Linked DNA regions of Homo sapiens: region 2 is linked to region 1. Evidence: promoter capture Hi-C in 16 types of primary human blood cells and fetal thymus (Javierre and others, 2016). All regions are on one chromosome and are shown on one strand. Each heading gives the region's core, a stretch centred on a gene start or on the middle of the fragment in contact. The rest is flanking DNA. Distances are from core to core; before and after follow the strand shown. Region 1 holds the start of CRTAM (cytotoxic and regulatory T cell molecule). Region 2 overlaps SORL1 (sortilin related receptor 1).

The links. The method cuts DNA at HindIII sites, captures the fragments that hold promoters and counts their contacts. A CHiCAGO score of 5 or more calls a contact.
Region 2: a contact is called between a fragment that was not itself captured here and the fragment with the promoter of CRTAM in region 1, in 1 of 17 cell types (naive CD8 T cells). The highest score is 6.2, in naive CD8 T cells.

What each region holds. Positions count from the first base shown.
Region 1 is chr11:122,835,859-122,840,873 of GRCh38, reverse strand. It overlaps CRTAM (cytotoxic and regulatory T cell molecule), which reads right to left and starts at 2,374. Exons shown (of 10, transcript NM_019604.4): 1 at 2,282-2,374. The coding sequence starts at 2,327. The HindIII fragment of the contact is 4,925 bases long and covers 2,017-5,015 here.
Region 2 is chr11:121,453,704-121,458,718 of GRCh38, reverse strand. The region is part of intron 1 of SORL1 (sortilin related receptor 1); the gene reads right to left. Among named protein-coding and RNA genes, the nearest start is that of SORL1-AS1, 3.2 kb to the right of the region's middle. RefSeq lists a silencer at 4,395-4,444. The HindIII fragment of the contact is 6,202 bases long and covers 1-5,015 here.

The sequences.
Region 1 (5,015 bases), core at 1,125-3,624:
TAAGACTATTTATTCTGGGAGTGGCCTTGAAAAGAGGGCAGGCTCTGAGATTACGTGACTTTTTTTTTTTCCATAAATTTTTGGCAGCCATAGAAGTAACACTGTAGAAGTAGTCACAGTGATCTTCCCATAATTTAATTTGCTAAAATCAGCTGACAGTTTATAGCTTTGCCAAAACTGATGATTTGCTGCCTTTTTTGCTGACAAGAAAGCAACATGGTCACCTCCTCCTAATTACGTCTGGGATGGGCTTGAGCAAGGTTAGGTCAGGGGTGGCAGCCACTGCTCAAATGCCATTGAGCTTAGATGCCCTCGGGTGGCCCCTTGAACGAGTTTTCAAATAGGACTTTTTAATATTGAATCCTCCAAATTGTGAAAGTCAGTGGTTTTCCAACTTTTGATCCACATTAATACATTTTCTGTCACAACTAGTACACACACACACACACACACGTTAATTAGAAGTTTCATGAAATAAATACTTTTACTATGTGCTTTATAGGCTGGTATTTATGTTGTCATATTCTAGCTTTAAAACTTGGGCAGGTTACATAACTTCTTTTCTCATCTTTAAATTGGGGATATTAGTACCTACCTCAGTACTTCCGCTATGATTAAGTGTAATTAACACAAAGTACTCAGCACTGTGCATGAAACAATATTTTTCCTCTCTATATAAATAATATTTAAGTAATTTAGGTTTACCTTGAAACATAATTTTTGCTATTTATTTAAAAAATGTATTTTTATGAGTTATTTTTTATGAGGCAATAACTCAAAGCCTGAAAAAGTTAAGGTCAGTGAAAGGCTTTAAACTCTGGAAAAATTGAAATCATCCTAATTTTAGCTGTCTAAATGTACTCTTTTTGAATGTATTAGCTATTCTTTAAGCCACTTAATGAAGAAACTAATATTATTCATTACCAAAATTGAATCCTTATTAAGTGCCTCAGGGTACAGGGACCAAAAAAAGAAGGCATTAATTGAAGTATATAAAATAGGGAATTGAAGTACTATGTAAAATAGGAAATCGAGTTTTTTAAAGTAGCGTCCTTCAGATGCCATTCCAGATTAAATGTAGATTTAGAAGGATAGGTGCATTTCATGAAACAGAACTACAGTTTCAATATTTGGTAACAAACACACAAAAAGCAAAATTTTTGAGTGGATTTGTGAGGGATGTCCTTTGCATGAATCTGATACAATTGTAAGCAGAGACTGAGGGACAACAGGAGCCACTTCCTACACCCCTGCCCCCACTTTTGGGTAGAAAATAATTTGACCTGCTCCAAAAAGGTAACTGCTTCTATCCTTAATTTTCATAATGCTACATTAGGATTAAGCACTAAAATCCAAATTTGAAAATTATAGTAAAATGTAAAGTATAACTTACTCTTTAAAAATAAACACGAAGTTTTCATTGGTCTCATTATTACCTCTGAGCTAAATAAGTGTTGCACAGCGCTTTATCATTTTCAAAGTGCTTTCACATTTGAAATTTGATCCTTCTAACAATCCAGGGAGTTTGGTGGATCAAAAGTTTTTATCATTTTCATTTTAAGATGCAGAAACTGAGTTTCAAAGAGATTAAATCGTTTGGCTAAGATTTATACAGCAAGGAAATTTTAAAATTCAACGTGGAGGCCGGGCGCGGTGGCTTACGCCTGTAATCCCAGCACTTTGGGAGGCTGAGGTGGGCAGATCACGAGGTCAGGAGATTGAGACCATCCTGGCTAACACGGTGAAACCCCGTCTCTACTAAAAATATAAAAAAATTAGCCGGGCGTGGTGGTGGCGGGCACCTGTAGTCCCAGCTACTTGGGAGGCTGAGGCAGGAGAAAGGCGTGAACCCGGGAGGCGGAGCTTGCAGTGAGCCGAGGTCGTGCCGCTGCACTCCAGCCTGGGCGACAGAGCGAGACTGTGTCTCATAAATAAATAAATAAATAAAATAAAATAAAATTCAATACGGATGCTCTTTCAACTGGTATGCCCTTAAAAGACAGAGCCTAATAAGCTTGTTTCATCTTGCCGTAACATAGGACCCACAGAGACACACACTATAATGATCCTTTCTATACTCCTTAGCCATTGAACGAGAGATCAAATAAACGCAGTAACATCCCTCAGATGCATGATTTGAGCATGGCTTGGAAAGTATTAGCAGTTACCTGGGTTGTCTTCTACAGCAGCTCCTCTGTAAATGCAGTTGACTGACTGATAGGTAGATGTGGCAAAACATTAAGTCAGCTGAGCAACAACAAAAATAACTCTAAGTCCTTACCTTGCAAGGGGAACCATGCCAGCAAGCTGAGAACTCTCCACCACATACTGTGCTGTGCTGCTGTGGCACCTTTGTCAACTTCCTCTAGATTCTGAGACAAATGGAGCTGAGTAGTTTCTTTTAAAGGGGGAGAGGCAGTAGATCTGTGACCTCATGTGTATCAACTCCTCCATCTGTCTGGAAGCCCCCTCTTAGTTAGCTGCCCCCAGAACACCTCCTGGTGGAACATTTTGGGGACCACATGTATTATCTTGATGGCAGAGAGGTGTGAGTGATGTGTTGGTGACAAAAATTGTTTTACCACAAGTGGGTAGTACTGGTAAATCAACTAGTTGCAAGGTTTTTAGAGGGAGCATGGGTGGGAGAAATACTGTAAAATGTCCCTGTGTAGTGACGTCATCCTTATTTTTACTTTTCTAGTTTATTAGATAAATACAATTAGATAATTTTTGCTCAACCTTTGGGAATATTTTATTTCTATGCTGACATCAATTTATAATTGTTGTCGGGGAGGAATTCATTCATTCATATAGATATACTCATTTTTGAAATCTATATATCTGTCCACCCACCCATCCACCCATCTTTTCATCCACCCACTCACAAATACAAATCTATTCATCCACCTATCCATCCATCCATCCTTCCATCCATCCACCCACACATCCATCCACCCATCCATTTATCCTTCCATCCACCCACTCACTCATGTATTACCTGCCCACTCATTCCCCATCCACCCATCCATCCATCTATTCATCCACACATCCATCCATCTCTCCATCCATCCAGCCAGCCAGCCATCCATCTATTTATCCATCCATCTATCCATCTATCCATCCATCCATCCATCCATCCATCCATCCATCCATCCATCCATCCATCCATTTATCCACCCATCCATCCATTCACCCATCCATCTATCCATCCATCCATCCGTCCATGACCTATTCATTCACCCACCCATCTATCTATACATGCAAATACTCATCCATCCACCCAACCACCCATCTATCTATCCACCCACGCATTCATCCATTCACCCACTCATTCATCCATTTACCCACCCATCTATCTATACATATGTCCGTCCGTCCATCCATCCATCCATCCATCCATCCATCCATCCTTCTATCCACCCATTCATCTTGTCACCTGTACAGCATCTAGTATGCACTACTTTGAGACATGCTCAAATAAAAAACATAAATTCCTTGTTTTTCAGGAGAATATAATCTAGTGGGGGAGACAATGTACATATGAACAGTTCTGGTATTTAATTTTCATTAATTGGACAAATTGAGATAGATTTAATGTAGTTTTTCCAGGAGCACACAGTAAAATATTAGTAAGTTTATGTTTAGAAAACAGAGATCAGTCTGCAATGCTTGGAAAATGAAAAGGAAACACTACTTACTGGCTCTAATTGAAATTAGTGTTAATACTCTGATAAATTTGATGAAGTTTGGGTAGGAAAAGTCTTACTCATCAAAAATGTCTTCCAAATATTTTGTTGGCTGGGCACAGTGGCTCATGCCTGTAATCTTAGCATTTTGGGAGGCTGAGGTGTGAGGATCATCTGAAGCCAGGAGTTCAAGACCAACCTGGGCAACATAGTGAGACCCCCATCTCTACAAAAAATACAAAAATTAGCTGAGCATGGTGGTGCATGCCTGTAGTCCCAGATACTTGGGAGGCTGAGGTGGAAGGGTTGCTTGAATGCAGGAGGTTGAGGCTGCGGTGAGCCGTGATCACACTACTGTACTGCAATCTGGGTGACAAAGTGACACCCTGTCTTAAAAAAATAAAAATAAAAAATCCTCCAAAACACAATATTTTGTCTTTCAAATTTTTCATTTTTTAATTTTTTCCCTTTTGCTCATAATATTCCATCCAGGAACTTCTAATTTTTATACTTGTCCTCAGTAGAAGAGAACAGTTTACCCAGGGTCACTCTTCCTCCATAGGGCATCCATGAGGGGGTCTCAAGGTCCTTTTCCCTTGCCTTGAGGTGGAGCAACTCTGAAGCTCCCCAAGGGATCAGGATCAGCTGAGATCTTTGTTGTAACTGCACCTCAGTCCAGCTTCTACCGATTCTCCAACTTGCTTCCTTCTTGTCACCAAGAGTACTCATCTATAAACTTCTGCACACGGATCTCTGTATCAGCTTCTGTTTCCCAGGAACCTGACCCACAACAACACTTGACATAGGTTGTCAACGAGTGAATGAAAGACTAAATTGACTCTTTATTTGAGATGTAAATGCTACTCTTTTTGCTCTGAAGTCTAAAAAGATGTTTGACTTACAATTTCCCCAGAGCATTAAAGAAGAGCTTACTTTAAATTGCACTTTGGACGATGGAGAGTGTATCCTTTTCATCCACGGGTGCCATATTCAACTGGTTGAAAACCTTGACAAATGTCACAATAGTCCACTGGACTTGGACATTAAGAACGGTTGGTGGGGGAAATGCTACAAGGTGAACTGGTGGACGACATACATGTGTGCTTTCCAGGGTCCCTGTTCTCATTACCCCCACTTCAGCCTGCAGCTCATGTAGTATTCAACAGGAGAGGGCAGCAGATTGTGGCTGCTCAGTGAATTGGGAGAAAAAGACGAGGTTGGAAGGTAATAAGTGGTCTACCTATTTTCTAATGGGAAAGAGTCTACTGAACAGTATGTGGGAGACCTCACAACTGATAGCTAGTTTGTCATTTTGGTCTCCGTTTTATG
Region 2 (5,015 bases), core at 1,298-3,797, 1.4 Mb after region 1:
CTTCGAAGGCCCAGGGTTCACAGGTCGATAAGCCAATAAATTAGGTCGAAATTAACTGTGGCTCATTTTAAATTGAGGGAAATTGATTTTTGCATGTACGTGGCTAGACTGACTATACCATCTGCCAACAGTGTCTGGCATACCTAGAAAATGCATAGGAAAGTCCCATGCTCATCAACAGAGAATGCCTCACCCCCACAGCCCAGACCACCTCTGGAGAAATACTAATCCCTGAATATTCAAACCAAAAATGCAGTGAGCTCTCTTTTACTTTCCATCACATTTATTTAAATCCAAATAAATGGAGGAAAGGTCAATGTAATGCCCCCAGGTTTTAATACATTTTTATTCATTTAAAACATTTAATACATTTTTATCAACTCTCAATTATCTGCATCTGAATTATTGTCGCAAATTCTAAACTCCAAACTGCCTTTCCCTGAATACATTTAGGCCAGCCATTTCCCTTATCAATAGATCAAAGAATGCAAACTCATTTTAATATTCACCTGAGCAAAACTTAATTAGGAAGGTAAACGAATGCTTTAAAAAAAAGACTACATAAATACATAGCAAAAGCAAATCGATTATTTTTTGGATTACCTGCTCTCCAGATTATGATAAGACTGCCCCCTGTGTCCCTCCATTACAGTGGGTGGAACAAAGCTGGCTCCAACTATCTCTGCCCTGGGATTCAACAATGACACTATGAAGATGGCTGTCATCTCTAAGGAGGAACAGACCAAAATCTGACAATGAAATGTTCCTACAACATCCACCTTTTGCCTTGGGATGTTCGTTGCTATAAGGATCTGCCTCGTGGATCCCAAGTCTCAAAGCAATTTATTAAGCATACCATTAACTTCATTTTACAGAACATAGAGAAAACATTCTCAGACAGAACACAAATTAAAACCAAGATCCATGATCACTGTATTCTGATGCTCTTACAAGCCTGGACTCCACATCTCAAGGGAACTGTGCTCCAGCATCTCTCCAAGTTACAAGGGGGCTACATCAGGCTGCTCTCCTGCTCTGCAAGAACGCTTGAAGTGAAAGGAGAATGAGGTTTTTCTCACCTGGCCTGGAAAAAAAGTAATCATCTATTTTATATTATGATACTTCAGGTAATTTTCTAACAATTCACCATCATAATATCACAAATATAATTTAGAGCTAAAGTTAATCTCATTATTCAGGATACCAGGGACTACAGGTAACAGGAAGCCATTTATAATTCAAGTTTCCAATTTTATGTACATACATGTTGTACATGCATAGACTGTTTCTGGAAAGATATACAAAAATATTGATAACAACGGATGCCACCCGGAAAGGAGCTCTGGGTGAACAGGGGGCATGAGAGGGAAGGAAATTTGTTACCACATACGCTTTTGTACAAATTTTGTTTTGTAAACGTGCATTACCTAATCAGACAGCTTTTTATTTCATCCCTCCAAATTCCGCCTCCTTACTCTTCTCACCAACCCCTTTCCTCCATTCCTTCCCCCTCGCAAAGCCTCCACCTTCTGTGCCTCTAACCATGCAAGCTATTTATGAACTAAAAGCGGCCAGAGACTGGGCACAGAGCTCCCTAAGAAAAGACGCCAAGTGGAACCAGGAAGAGCTTTTCAAGGTCACGTCCCTTATTGAGCCAACCCAAGGCCCCGAGCAACTCTTCAGCTACATAAAAGCCAACCTGAAGCAGCACATTCTTTGCCTTCTCATCTTATTCTGGAAGCACACAGGTCAAACATCCTAACTTCAGAATCAACCAGCCAATTCTTTCCCAAGCAAGTGTATCATGGAAGAATCTACTCAAAAGAGATCTAAAGCTGAACGGTATTCCACCCCCAAAGGAGGCCTTTTGTCCCAGGGCCTTGTGCTGTAATAGACACTTTATTTTCAGTCTCAAATCAGGACACTGAATACTCCCTGGCTTCTAAAATGTAGGAATTATGAAGAGAGAGCTTGTTGGAAGGAAAATAAACCTGTAAATCCTGTTAGGCTTTGTGCTTTATTCCAAAGGATTTTTCCCCAAAACAATACCATTAGCATAAACCAGAATGATAGCCCTAAAAGGGAGGATTCTGTAAAATAGAATCCAAGCTCTTCATTGAAAATAACTCCCATATAGCACAGGCAAATCAGGGCTCCACTATCTGTAGGCCATGCCGCTTGCATCCTCACTACCGAATGAGCCATCTCATTTTCACTATCCATGTGTGGGTTCACTGTATTCCTCCTTACAAATACATTTTATATAATGTGAATGTGCTTCCTACCCTCTGGGCCTCTCTTCTTCCAGGTGTGTGGCTGGTCCACAAATACTCATTAAGGGCCTCCCAAGTGCCAGGGAAACACAAGAGAACTTGATCCATGCCCTCAAGGAGCAAACAGGAAGATGAGACAGTTGAGCAATTCTAACACAAGGCAGTAAGTGCTGCCTCCAAGCTCAGAAGAAACTCTTCCCACCATAGCCTGAGAATACCAAGAGGTATTCCTTGGATGTTAAAGAATGGAATAAGAGCTTCCCAGGCAAGGACAAGAGTTGGGGAAGATCATTTCAGGCAGAGGAAAAAGCAGGTATGATGGCGCAGACAGACAGAGCTTATGAGAAATCAGGAGGAAATTCAGTGTGGCATGAATTAGGGAATCCCTCTTCTTGGACCTGGCCTTTAAGAAGGGGCTCAACTTCTAAACTTTGCCTTTTTTTTTTTTTTTTTTAGATGGAGTCTCACTCTGTCCCCCAGGCTGGAGTGCAATGGCGCGATCTCGGCTCACTGCAACCTCCGCCTCCGGGGTTCAAGCGATTCTCCTGCCTCAGCCTCTTGAGTAGCCAGGACTACAGGCATCTGCCACCACGCCCAGTGAATTTTTGTAGTTTTAGTAGAGACGGGGTTTCCCCATGTGGACCAGGCTGGTTTCGAACTCCTGACCTCAAGTGATCCACCCGCCTCGGCCTCCCACAGTGCTGGGATTACAGGCGTGAGCCTTGAACATGGGCAGAAAAGTCCTGATATCTGCCAGCAAATTATTTTCACCCCTACAATCACATTTCAGTATCATAAATGTGCCTTTAAGTAATCATGGCAGAAGCCGGTCTCCCCACCTTAGAGAAACTGAGGAGGAAAATGGTCAAAATAACCAAGCCTAGTTTACCCAAGACATTAGCGAAGCAGAGGAAAAAGGACCGACATTGACTCCAGCACAGGGCTCTTTCTCAGATGCAAGTATTCCCCTAGAAAGCCTTCCCTTCTCTTCTCCCTGAAGGTGGTGGCCTTAACATCGCCTCTAGGCCTGCTTCCTTCAGGCAGCTTCTGCTTCCAGCCCTAACCTGTGCTGCCAGTGTCCTCTTAACCTCACTCAAAGGTCAGAGGGCAAGAAGCTGGACAGTGTCTGAGCCCACCACCCCTTATCTCTCCATCTCCCATGCGCTGCATGTCACACAGCCCGTTATCACACCATTGTAGAGTTGTGGCTGGTTTCTTGTGACCATGTTTCCTGGTTCCCATCCTGGTACATTGACATGCCTGTATCTGCATCTGCTTGCTCTCCTCCTTAAATTGTAAATTTCCTAAAAGCAGGAATGAAATTTTATTCCCCAGCTCACTGCACCTCCATAGAACCACACTCAAGTCAAGCAGTACTGTTGGAAAACATCACCATTCCTTAGGTTTAAACGTTGAAGGGGAAAGTCGTGATTACAAAGTGGAACTTGGCTTAAGGCTAAAAGTAGGACCATATAATTTATTGTCACATCTTGACACTTTTGAGAGTGAAGGGGGTGCTATTCATAACCACCAGAGACAACTTAGAAACCAGGTCTGCCCCAGGGAAACACAGAGGCAATGGTCATCCTTGCTAGAAAGATCATTCCAAATAGATGTTAGTTACTCCAGAGTTCCAAGAGGGGCACCTCAAACCCCTTCAGTCACCAACCTGTGCTTGCATTCTGAAGGGTCTGCACCAGATAGAACTTGTGGCAGAAAGCCCAGTACAGGGAAGTTCTTCCTTTTATCTGACTCAAATCCTTACAGATTCAAATTAATTCCACTTCTTATTAACCTCAGAGCAAGAGGCAACAATGGCATAGGAAGGCAGCCACAGAGAAGAAAAATCTCACCCTTGTACCCTCACCCTCCGGTTAGGAATTCCTCATTATGAGTTTGACTGCTAGTTCTCCATCCTTCAGCTGAACCAAACTCAATCTGGCTGGCCCAGAAACTCAAAAGCCCAGGGTTTGGGAGTCACTCCCAGTGAGAACAGAGTTCATGTCCAACCTGCCCCACATCCCCTGGAGCTTTTCATAAACCAAACCCAAGAAAGAAATGGCACATGTACACATATTTTTGAAACCAGAAAACTTTTTCCTCAACCTAAACTATAGCTTCAGGGGACCTGAGCACTGGGAGGGATTGTCTCCCACCAGCCCCCAACTCCCAGTTCCCAGAATGCTGATTCAAGAGCACAGCAGAGCTGGGCTGACTGCGGAGGCCCAATGAAGAAGTGGGCCACTCCTCCTCCTTCTCCCACCCTCCATCAGCCCCATGCTGGTGTCGCTGTTAAGAGCAAGGACCTTGATGACTTCTTTTTGTTCATACACATATTTGTCATATGGGGTGGGGACAGGGGGACAAGGATCTGGGCCCAAGAGGAACTGAGCATGCAGGTTCCTGCAGCCTGTGGCCACCATTAGTTACATGCCCTGGGGCACACATTCTTGCCCAGGGACCAATAGTGGAGGGAAATCCAACGCTCCCACCCAGTCACCACCATCCTTTCCCCCTTTATACCAGATCTATTTTATTTTAGAAAGGAGGTATTTCAGCAGCATTGCATAAAGACAGGGTGACTGCAGTCAAGCAAAGGTCACTGAGACAATGCAGACAAAAACTAGAGAGCAGGCCACCTTCCCGGTATGACCTTGGACTAGTCACTTCACCATTCCACGCTTCAGTTTCTTCACCAACAAAATGACACAATAGGGTGATATGTTTACAAGGTTCGTCCTG